Linked DNA regions of Homo sapiens: regions 2 and 3 are each linked to region 1. Evidence: promoter capture Hi-C in 16 types of primary human blood cells and fetal thymus (Javierre and others, 2016). All regions are on one chromosome and are shown on one strand. The core of a region is centred on a gene start or on the middle of the fragment in contact, and the rest is flanking DNA. Distances in the headings are between cores, read along the strand shown.

What was found. The method cuts DNA at HindIII sites, captures the fragments that hold promoters and counts their contacts. A CHiCAGO score of 5 or more calls a contact.
Region 2: a fragment that was not itself captured here is called in contact with the fragment with the promoter of TMOD2 in region 1 in 1 of 17 cell types (monocytes); the score reaches 5.8 in monocytes.
Region 3: a fragment that was not itself captured here is called in contact with the fragment with the promoter of TMOD2 in region 1 in 2 of 17 cell types (neutrophils and monocytes); the score reaches 6.1 in neutrophils.

The regions. Positions count from the first base shown.
Region 1 is chr15:51,749,450-51,753,161 of GRCh38, reverse strand. TMOD2 (tropomodulin 2) reads right to left here and starts at 1,565. Exons shown (of 10, transcript NM_014548.4): 1 at 1,450-1,565. It also overlaps a transcript of LYSMD2 not described here. RefSeq lists silencers at 1,152-1,211, 1,242-1,351, 1,402-1,831 and an enhancer at 1,942-2,011. The HindIII fragment of the contact is 6,757 bases long and covers 1-2,129 here.
Region 2 is chr15:51,534,583-51,538,294 of GRCh38, reverse strand. It overlaps DMXL2 (Dmx like 2), which reads left to right. Exons shown (of 44, transcript NM_001378457.1): 10 at 1-82; 11 at 536-807; 12 at 1,433-2,129; 13 at 2,511-2,632. Among named protein-coding and RNA genes, the nearest start is that of DMXL2, 86 kb to the left of the region's middle. The HindIII fragment of the contact is 1,194 bases long and covers 973-2,166 here.
Region 3 is chr15:51,559,477-51,563,188 of GRCh38, reverse strand. All of the region lies in intron 6 of DMXL2 (Dmx like 2), which reads left to right. Among named protein-coding and RNA genes, the nearest start is that of DMXL2, 61 kb to the left of the region's middle. The HindIII fragment of the contact is 6,262 bases long and covers 1-3,712 here.

The sequences.
Region 1 (3,712 bases), core at 316-2,815:
ATTCTCTCATTCCTTCTATTGCATATTTCTTTTTCAAACAATGATCCATCAGTACGCAACTTCTCTTTTCTGTGTATACACATTCTGGTTACTTCTTGCTGGGGCTTCCTCCCCGACCTCCATGCTGACCACATTTGACCACTCGTGCCCAGCCCTAGGGAGCCACTAATCCTTTATCTGCTGATCCCATCACTTCACCTTCAGCAAATTAAAGACAAAAACAAACCCCATCATTTTGTTGCCCACCAATGTACAGTACCTTACAAAAATTAAAATGATTGCAATGCGTATTTATTGGGTTAGACTGAAGAGAGTCGATCGAGAAAATCAGTTTTATCTTTAAAAAAAAATCAGATTGCTGAAGCTCTGAAAAATCTTTCCTCCTCACTAGGGTAGAGGCGCTTGTTGTCACAATTAGGCTTTTTGTAGTGCTGTTAAACAGAAACACTCTCATCTTTTCAGTTCCCTGAGAGGGGAGAATCTTGGAAGAACAGAGGTTTACAAATCATTTAGCCCAAACGCCCCTTTACATGCAGAGGCCCAGAGAGGTGGAGGGACTTGCCCAGGTCCCTCAGCTCCTGAATGGTCAAGCTAAGAGGAGAACCTGGTTTTTAAAACACCTCCCCCGATCTTCTTTTCATTCCCGTCCTAAATGCCTCGTGATTCAGATATGTAATGGGCACAGACGAAGCTGCAGTAAGCACGGCCTCCTTCACTGCTAATTTGCATTGTGACGGCATCACCTTCCTACCTCTGAATACTCTAAAAATTCCCATTAGAAGCCTTTTATTACTGTTTTAAAAATCCACCTTCATTTCCGCAGGTCAACAGGGAACATTTAGGAAGCCTCAAGGGAGCACATACTACAATTACTTTAACCAGAAAAGTAATAACAATAATAATAAGGTTCTCGAGGATCCGCACGAGGCCGCTTACTGGGAGGCTGAAACGCCCTGCGAGTGACAGCTCCAGCGATCTCAGGAAAGACGCCGGCCAGTCCACCCCTCCCCATCGCCTGCTGAACGAGGCAGGGAGATGCATACCGCTCCAGGAGCTCACCAAACATGCACAGGAAGGGGAAAAGTGGGGGAACAAAGCCCGGAGTGGAAGAACACAGCCCCGCAGCCCGGGAGGACAGGAGACCGCGCCCTCCCCGCTGCGGCCCAGCGGGCTGCAGAGGCTGCGGCACCGCAGTGCGGGGCGCGGGACTCACACCCCGGCGGGCGCCTCCCGCCCGGGCGCAGCGCCTGGTCTCCCGGCGCAGCCGACCGGGCCGGGAGGCGAGAGGCGAGAGGCGGCCCGGCTCTGCACGCCCGCCCGGCCGACCGCCCATGTCGCGGAGCATCCTCCCGCGGGCAGGGAGGGCACGGCGGCCACCGCGCTGCGGGCCCGGGGGCTGCAGACACCGGCTGTCCAGAACAGGCCCCACCCGCCCCCCGGGGCGCTCACCCGTCCGTGCGCTCATCCCGGAGCCGGCTGTGCTGGCCGTCAGTCCGTCAGCCCCGGTGGAGCGGGGCCGGGAGAACAGGGGCGGCGCCGTGGCCGGGGCGAGCGCGGCGATCAACAGGCGGCTCCCGGCCGGGCGCGGCGCCGGGGCGCGCGGCTGCAGCGGAGCAGGCTGGGAAGCGTAGTTCCCGGCTGAGCCTCGCCGCGGCCCCGCAGTCCCCCAGCCCCGCCCTTCCCCGACAGGTGTCCTCTCCCGGAATCGGGGTCTGAACCCCGCCACAGCTCTGCAGGGGAGGAAGCACCTGGGTCGGGGAGAAGCCTGGGCAGGCTCTTTGGAGACGCTCGGGGCTCCGGAGAGCGTGGATGGCAAAGGCTTTCAAGCCTGTGATGAGCATTCCTGTGAGCGAGCATCCTGACACGGAAGCCGCGTTGAGAGCGGTCTCAGGTACAGACCCCGCCCGCCCCAGGTTTTCCTGGCTGGGCGTGGGCGTGGGAGGAGAGAGTAGTTGGGTTGGCAGCCTAGGGAGGGAAGGAGGTAAGCGAGGTGGAAGTTAGCAAGGCTCTAGGGTGATGGCGTGAGGGGCTGGAGAGCCCAAGCGCAGTGGCGGCTTCACTGAGGTGAGACCGGACAACTTAGCCTGTCTGAGCCTTCGCGTCCTCATCTGTAAAACAGGCTTCAAGCTTGAAAAAGTGTTGTGAGGATTAAGCGACCCATAGCACTTAGGATCTGGCACTTAGTGCATACTCAGTGAAAGTTCCTTCCTTGGGGTTTCCGAGGGAGTTCTTGGGCCGGGAAAGTCCTATATGTCGTGCTAACCTAAAGATAGTTGGACCTCGTTGGGCTGGGTAAATGTTAAAATCCACTGGGTTTGTTAGTCGTTGAGCCCGTTCACTTCATCCCTGAATATACCCTGAGATGTTCTGTCTGCCAGGTTCTTGAGAGCTCCAAAGATAGAGAAAATAAAGTCAAGTTTCTGAAGCATGACAGCAGAGTGGGGTGACATAGGACAAAGACCAACATTATGAAAATACATGGCATCTAGATTTAACTTCCAGAGGCCTTTTCTAATTAGATGTGATATCTCTCTCCTTCTTGAACTTTTGCAGCATATTTTGAGCATAACCTTTGCTTATGGGACTTATCTTGGCAGTCTAAGGTTCGTTGAGTTTTGCAAGTTGCTGCTATGCAGTGTTTCACATGATGGTGGGATTTGCATTCACAGATGTAGTGGAGGAAAATGAACCAAAGGGATGGATGCAGCATGGCTGGTGTAATCTCTATATGAAATTTTAGGCAAAATGTGAAAAGAGGTGAAACAGCTTTATAGTCTGTCTGGCACGAGGTGTGCAGTAATCGTGTGGCCAAAAAAACGTGCTGCAGAGGAAATTCCACATCTGAAAATGATAACACTGGTTTGCATTTATGAAAATACTTTCCTATTTGTGTTCTCATTTGATTTTTACAAGAACCCTTGTGAGACAGGCAGAGTGAAGGTATTTTTCCCCAATGATAGTTAATAAGAGGCACAGAGAGGTGATGTGACTTATTCAAGGTCATAGGGGTGTTCAGTAAGCCTGTCTTCTCTCCTTCCACTGTGGGCACCCCCAGCACTGTCTCCCTTTTGCACATTGCAAAATAGGGCCATACCTTCCCCAGCAGATGGGTTGAACCAGAAAGTAAAGTTAATCCTCTAAAACTCTGGGAACTAGCATGATGAACACTGGCACGCAGTGGCTGCTGACTGAGAGACCAGTGTTGTTTCTATGATCAATTGTGGTAATGGACTATATCTTGGGCCTCCTGTCAGAATGACAAATCTGAGCCAGAAAGAGTTAAATGAAATGGGGGTGTGACCAAATTACTTTAAGTCATGTTCCCAAGTTTTCCTGTACATTTGTTATTCCGAATGTCCTGTGTAACCGACAGGATGCCTTTGACTTTTTTATGTTGTACATTTGTTACAGTCATAGCCTTCTGTTAAATAAGAACAGGGCTGCTTACGGATCGAGCCAGCAGTTTTCCCAGAGAAAGCTGATAGTAGGCATATGCTGAAAATAATAAAGCAATTTCATTCATATTGGAAGAAAGAGTAGCAAAGGTGCTCAGTAGTGTACAGTATTTCTCTTTGGTTTCCCGTGGTTCTGCACGAGGAAAATGGCTGCATGTGATAAAACGAATAGAGTATTCCTTCAGAAACTAGCCATGAAAGGAAGCAGACAGGGGAATGATTTAAGTTAAAGTCATGTTCGGCAGTCGAAGCAGAGA
Region 2 (3,712 bases), core at 320-2,819, 210 kb after region 1:
GAAAATGATGATGCAGATAGAGAAGATGAGGAACATTCACAGGAGGATAGAGAACGGGGTTTACATATGAAATTAGACCATGGTTAGTATCCTGTGTTCAGATTTTACTTACTCCAAAGTTAACAGCTTTCTGTGGTACCACTTTTAGTTTTGAATTCTTCCTTCCCGCTCTTCCTCCTTTTTACTTTTCTATTTGTTACACAAGTATTTACTGACCATCTGCCTTGGATCAGGTACTCTGCTAGCCCCTGCAAACATCATCTAACTCTATATGTTCTTTGGAAGCCATATCCTTTTCTGGGGAACAGGTTTTGCTAAATGGTAGTAATAATGATAGGGTGAATGAAGTTTTAATTTATCTAAAAGTAGTAACTGTAGTAACATTCAATTCAGACAAAAGTTTCCTTTGTTTTTTTTTCTGACTGTAAATTGGAAAAGAGATTTAGTTTTTAAAGATAGTATGCCATTTATTTATAGTCTAGTATGTAAATGAATTATTTAATGCTTGTATTGATAAATATATTTTCTGGTTCAGATTTATCCCTGGATAGAGAATCTGAGGCAGGTACAGGATCATCAGAACATGAAGATGGAGAAAGAGAAGGAAGTCCTAGAACTTACTCACGACTTAGTGTACCAATGCCACTGCCTACGGTTCTGCTTGATCGGAAGATTGAAACGCTGCTAACTGAATGGAATAAGAATCCTGATATGCTTTTTACAATACACCCTGTAGATGGTACCTTTCTAGTGTGGCATGTGAAGTATTTGGATGAATATAATCCTGGAATATTTAGACAAGTTCAGGTATATTTTATTGATGAAATAGTTATTACATTTCTTAAAATAGTAAAAAGAAATAAATGCTTTGTAGAGTTAGCATGTTTTTAGAATTACTGAAAATTTTGGTTTTGATAAGCATCTGAGTAAAGAATACTTCTTTCTTTCAGAAGGGATCAGTGACCATAAGCTTAGCAAACTTGATTAGTTAGAAGATAATGAATTTGGCCTTGAAATGCAGTACTGAATATTTAAATATATGTGTTGATTTTTGAGGGAATTAATAATATTTTGAATAAGATTAAGAAACTACCCTGAAAATGTGAATCAGGATGAGCTCCTCCTTGTGGCCAATTTGATGAGCTAAACGAAGCTGCCTTTGTCATCTCTCTCAACTTTATTGCTATTTAGATCTGTGGCTGTGGTCATTTTGTTGTACAAGCAAAGCACTTGAACTTTTTTTCTTCAGCCTTCTCTTAGGCCATGAATAGAGATATGGTATTACCTAAATAGAGCAAGGGGACTGGACCATAAAGAGGTTGAAAATGACATTTTTTGATAAGAAGCTGAGATTTGGTATTTTGAGAATAGAAGTCTTTTTTTTGAGAGGAGGTAAACTATTTGCACTGAATCATATAATTATGTTTTTCAGGTTTCTTTTTCTTCTCGGATTCCTGTTGCATTTCCCTCTGGTGATGCAAGCTCTCTTAGTAAAAATATCATGATGTATGCCTGTATAAATGCGACAAAAGATTCTCACCACACGCTGTTACACCAGGAGGGGATGTCTGTAGGCAGTCCTCACGGATCACAGCCACACTCTAGATCCCACAGTACACATATGAACATCTTAGCTCCCACAGTAATGATGATCTCTAAACACATAGATGGTTCTTTAAATCAGTGGGCAGTCACTTTTGCTGATAAGTCTGCCTTTACCACTGTTCTAACTGTATCTCACAAATTTAGATATTGCGGTCATCGATTTCACCTCAATGACCTGGCATGTCATTCAGTTTTACCACTGTTATTGACATCCTCTCATCATAATGCTCTATTGACTCCTGAATTAGATTGTCAGTGGGACTCAGACAATAAATTAAGTAGATTAATGGACCCTGTAAAACATATAAAAGGTTCCTCGAAACAACCTCTTAGAAATGCAGCAACTCGTACATTTCATGACCCAAATGCAATCTACAGTGAACTTATTCTGTGGCGTGTAGACCCAATAGGACCTTTGTCATACACTGGAGGAGTATCAGAATTGGCTCGAATTAACTCTTTACATACCTCAGCGTTCTCTAATGTGGCTTGGCTTCCAACTCTCATTCCCAGTTACTGTCTAGGTAAGTGTTCATTGTAATTGTGAAATTAACACAAGCTTTTAAACTATTATTTGTTATATACGAAATGGTTTATATTTGTTGTCATTAAGATTTTTAATAAGTATTCAGTTTTCATTAAGGTGATTTTTAATAAATATTCAGAATACAGGCATGAGACTGATTTTTAGAACTTCCAGAAGTTTTTAACCTTTTCTCTCATAATCCATTTTTTAATTAAACTTTTTGTTAATAATTTTGTATCTACTTATTGTGCCTGTTTAATTATGATTCTAGACCATGGTTAAGCCTAAAAAAAATGTGAATACTTGTTTCTTATCCTTTAGCCAATAAGAAAAATACACTACATGTTTAGAACCCAGAGGCCTTGTTTTCCTTTCTCAGGCACATACTGCAATTCTGCAAGTGCTTGCTTTGTTGCTTCTGATGGCAAAAATCTGAGACTCTATCAAGCTGTAGTGGATGCAAGGAAATTATTAGATGAATTGTCAGACCCAGAATCTTCAGTAAGTATTTAATAATCTTTATTAATTTATCTAAGGAGATAAAGAATTCTCTTTTGACTTTGTCTAGGACCTGTGTTTGTTAGTTGCTGTTTAGGGAGTAAGTATATGTTCTGGGCTGCATATGACATATATATGACACATTTATTTTTTCCTAAGCTGTGTTCCAAGGTACATGAATCAAAATTTTAGTGTACATACCACACATTAATACATTTTACATGAAAAGAAATAAAAAGGATTTTTTTCTAAAATATTATTTGTTTGTAACATATTTTACTCTCTAGTTTGGTTCTGTTAGTCTTACTTTGCTTAAAAGAAGTTTTAAGGCATCTTTACCAAGCTGTATGTTTAGGTTGGAAAATTGGAACTTTTTCAAGCTTGATTCACCATTTTAAAAAATTCTCTGGTTAGAATTTGTTATCAGTGGGTGGCAGCATCTCATTCTGATAGTTCTGTATCTGAGCTGGAAGTCATATATGTTAGTATCTAGAGTTGAACAGTAGATTTTCCATTTACCTATAAAAACAACTATTCTAATAAAAATGTTTCCAGTATTGAAAACCAATGACTATTTTTGAGCATCTACTATGTTCTCCTAGATGTAGAGGGAATACAAAATATAAGTTTCAGACCTACCTTTAAGGAGCTTTTAATTTAGCTGAAGAGAGAGCTTATTAATAAAAAGTTAAGTAGCAGTTTAAGACATAAGAAGAGGAGTCTAAGGGTGGTATGTAATTAATTGCCAAAAGGATGGCCCTAGAAGTGTTTCATTATTCAGAGGAGAGAGAGAGATCAGATTAAGGTAGGCATAGAATTCTTTATTAAGGACAATATTTGGGTTCATTCTTGATGAGTGGATAAGATTTAGAAAGATAAATTCTTTGTCTTTGCCTGAGTGAGAAAATTGCCTGGAAGTAAGTATAGATACAGGAAAGTACATGTGTAAAGCTTGTTCCAGAAACAGTGAGAAAACCATTTGGATTGGAGCTTAAGGTTTGACATAGAGAAAGTCTAGAAAAATAGAATCATAGAACTAGAATTGGAAGATATTTTAAAGGTCACCTGGTCTCACCAGCCATC
Region 3 (3,712 bases), core at 588-3,087, 190 kb after region 1:
AATGGCTATTCTTATTACTCTTATTTGACCTTGGCTTATTTGCGTTTTTAAAAACTAAGTTTTGTGTTTAAAAATAGCATATGTACATAACTTAAAAAGTAAAATAATACTGGATTCACAATGAAAAGATGTACTGCTTGCCTCATTATTCCAACGCTAATTCCTGTGTCCAGGAGGCAATTATTTGTCAAGTTGAATATTTTGCTATTTCCTTCCATGTCCTTCAATAACTTGCAGGTGCTCCCATTTCTTGATTCTGCCCAGCCCCCTGAGTTATATATATTATTTTTTGCCTTCCCACTGTAGAAGCTGAGGCTTTAGCTTGATAAAGGTGAGGGGTTGATATCCCCAACATCATCTTCACATCTAATATATACACATATTCATTTCACTTGCTCCTATCTTCCTGATGTAGGTATCTCATGATTTTGGGTAAATCAGAAGTTATTGTTTATGTTATTAAGATTGTACAGATTATTCTTAATAGTAATTACTTTGGAGATAGTAATTGCTTTGTTTTATGGTTTGCTTTTTTTTCTATATACCTAATTCATCCTTAGAACTGCTTTGACTCTTTTCTCAGTATAATCCCACATAGGAGGTATTCTGGGAACATGAGTTCTCTTTGCTCTCATTCAGCTTAATTGCTCTACCAGTCTAAAATAGCAGAGCTACCATTTTCGGATTTTCTTTTACCAACTTTGGGAAATTCTCTTTGCCTCTCTCCTTTGTTAAATTTTCTGTTTCTTAGCATCATTTATCTTCCTTTTTTCTTGTTTTGATGGAGATATCCCCCAATAGGTTCCTGAAGAAAGGTGAATGGGAAAAAACATTTTTTCAGGCCTTACGTGTCTGAAAGATTTTTTTCTTATGCTTGATTTTCTCGGGCATAGAATTGGGTTGAAAAATCACTGACCTTCGATATTATATCTCAATAAACTTTTTAATTGATATATATATGGGATACATGTGATATTTTGATACATGCGTAATGTGTAATGATGGTCAAATTAGAGTATTTAGGATATCCATCACCTCAAATGTTTATCTCTTTTTGTGTTGGTAACATTTCAAATCTTCTAGTTAATTGAAATGTACAATATATTATTGTTAACCATTGCCACCCTACTGTACTATTGAACACTAGAACTTATTCCATCTATCTAACTGTGTATTTGTACCAATTAACCAATTTCTCTTCATCTCCTTTTTTAGCTCCCACATAAGATTGAGAAAATAACGGTACTTTTTCTTTGTGTGCTTGTCTTATTTCATGTAACATAATGACTTCTAGTTCCATTTATGTTACTACAAGTTATAGGATTTTGTCCTTTGTACAGCCAAATAGTATTCCACTGTGTATATTTACCACATTTCATTTATCCCTTCATTTACTGATGGGCATGTAGGTTGATTCTATATCTAGGCTATTGTGAATAGTGTTGCAGTAAACATGGGAGTGTAGCTATCCCTTTGATACACTGATTTCCTTTTTTTTGGATAAATACCCATTAGTGGGATTGATGAACTGTATGGTAGTTCTAGTTTTGTTTTTTTGAGAAAACTCCGTACTGTTTTCCATAACCACTGGCACCTGAGCAAGCTGCCTGTAGGCCCAAGGACTGGTCCTCCTGGACCTGTGACTACTGGCGTCTTGTATGCTGCCTGGGAGCCCAAGGGCCTGCATGCCTGGCCTGCCTCTGCCACCACGGGTGCCTCAGAACTGGCCTGTCTGGTGTCCCTGTCTGCAGCAAAGCCTCACTACAGCCTCTGCTACCAACCACAGCCTAAGCCAATGAGTAACTCACAGCCACCACTGACACTGACTACACCTGAAGAAATTGTATGAAGACTACTCTCCTGCACTCACCCAGAATCAAAGCCAAAGCACACTATCCAACTAACGCTACGACATTTGGGGGACCTGTTAAATCTGAAACTCATGTCTTTCAATTCTGAGAGATTATATTATTTCTTTCGTGTTATTTCTTTCTCTCTCTGAATCTTTTCTTATTCAGATATGGATACTTTTACACTAATTCTCTATTTTACTATCTTCCCCCTTTACTGTTGTCCACTTATTCATCTTTTTCTTTTAATTTCTGGGGGACTTTTCAGATGTAACTTCAAAGTAATTTTTTTCTGCTATTAAATTTTTAATTTTTAAGAGGTTTTAAAATTCTCTGATTTTTTTTAAATTACAAAATATTTCATAAATTAAAAAAGTATATATAAAACATGTTATATAAGATATAATAAAGAATAAACAAATACACATGTACCCTACTCCTCAACTTGAGACAAAGAACATAAAACAAATGGGTCCTTTATCTTTCTCCATGCATCTCCTTCCTCCCCTCCCACCCCAGGCAACCAGAATCCTGATTTTCATGTTTATTATTTTATTTAAAAAAGTTTCACTCATCTAAATTCCCAAATAAGGTAATATTTAGTTTTCCACAGTTCTGAACTTAACAGAGTTTGTGTTTTTCTTTTTTTTCTTTTCTTTTTTTTTTTTTTGAGACTGAGTCTCAATCCGTCACCCGGGCTAGCGTGCAATGGCACAGTCACGGCTCATTGCAGCGTTGACCTCCTGGGCTTAGGCAGTCCTCCTGCCTCAGCTGGGAATACAGGTGTGTACCATCACATCTGGCTAGTTTTTTTTTTTTTTTTTTTTTTTTTTTGGTAGAAATAAGGTTTCATTATGTTGCCCAGGCTGGTCTCTTTTCCCTTTATTTATGATGCCCTAAATTAAAAAAATTTTTCTTCAAACATGAACAGAAAGGTACTGAACTCCTATGTACCCATCACTTAGTTTCAGCAGTTATCACTCAGCCAATCTTGTTTCATCTGTACTACTCCTCCCCCAGTTGGATTATTTAGGCTTGTGTCACTGATGTCATTCGTCTGTAAATATTTCAGTATCTACTTTTGAAGTATAAAGATTTTACAAAAATATCCACAATATATAGTGAGTTAATTGTAGTTTGAATCTTGTTTAGGAAAATTTCTTACTGTGATGCTATAAAAGTATTCTTTTTTATTTTCTCCTAAAATCTTAAAATTTTAATCTCTTATAATTAAGTCCCTAATCCAAATGAAAGTTGTCTCAATAACATTTACTGAATAGTTCATTCTTTTTCCATTGATCTGCCATACCATTTCTGACATGTATTAAATAATGCTGCAGCAGATGTCTTGTACATGTCTGTTAGGCTCTTGTGTGGATTTCTCTTGGGTATATACATAGGAATAGAATTGCTGGGTTATATGTTATATGTATCTTTAATTTCAGTAGATAATACCAATCTGTTTTCCAAAGTTGATATACTAATTTACACTCTCATAGTATACAATAGTTCCTGTTGCTCCTAGCCAGTGCTGATGTGGTCTGACTTTTAAACTTTTGTAAATTTGGTAGATGTCAAGTACCACCTCCGTGTAGTTTTTTTTGCTTTTTGTTTTTTTAGAGACAGAGTCTTACTCTGTCACCCAGGCTGGAGTACATCGGCCGATCATAGCTCACTGTAACCTTGAACTCCTGGGCTCAAGCGATCCTCCTGCCTCAGCCTCCTAAGTAGCTGGGACTACAGGCATGCACCACCATGGCTGGCTAAGTTTTATCTATTTTTTTTTGGTAGAGTTGTTATCTCCTTATGTTGCCCAAGCTGGTTTTGAACTCCTGACCTCAAGTGATCCTCCTGTTTTGGAC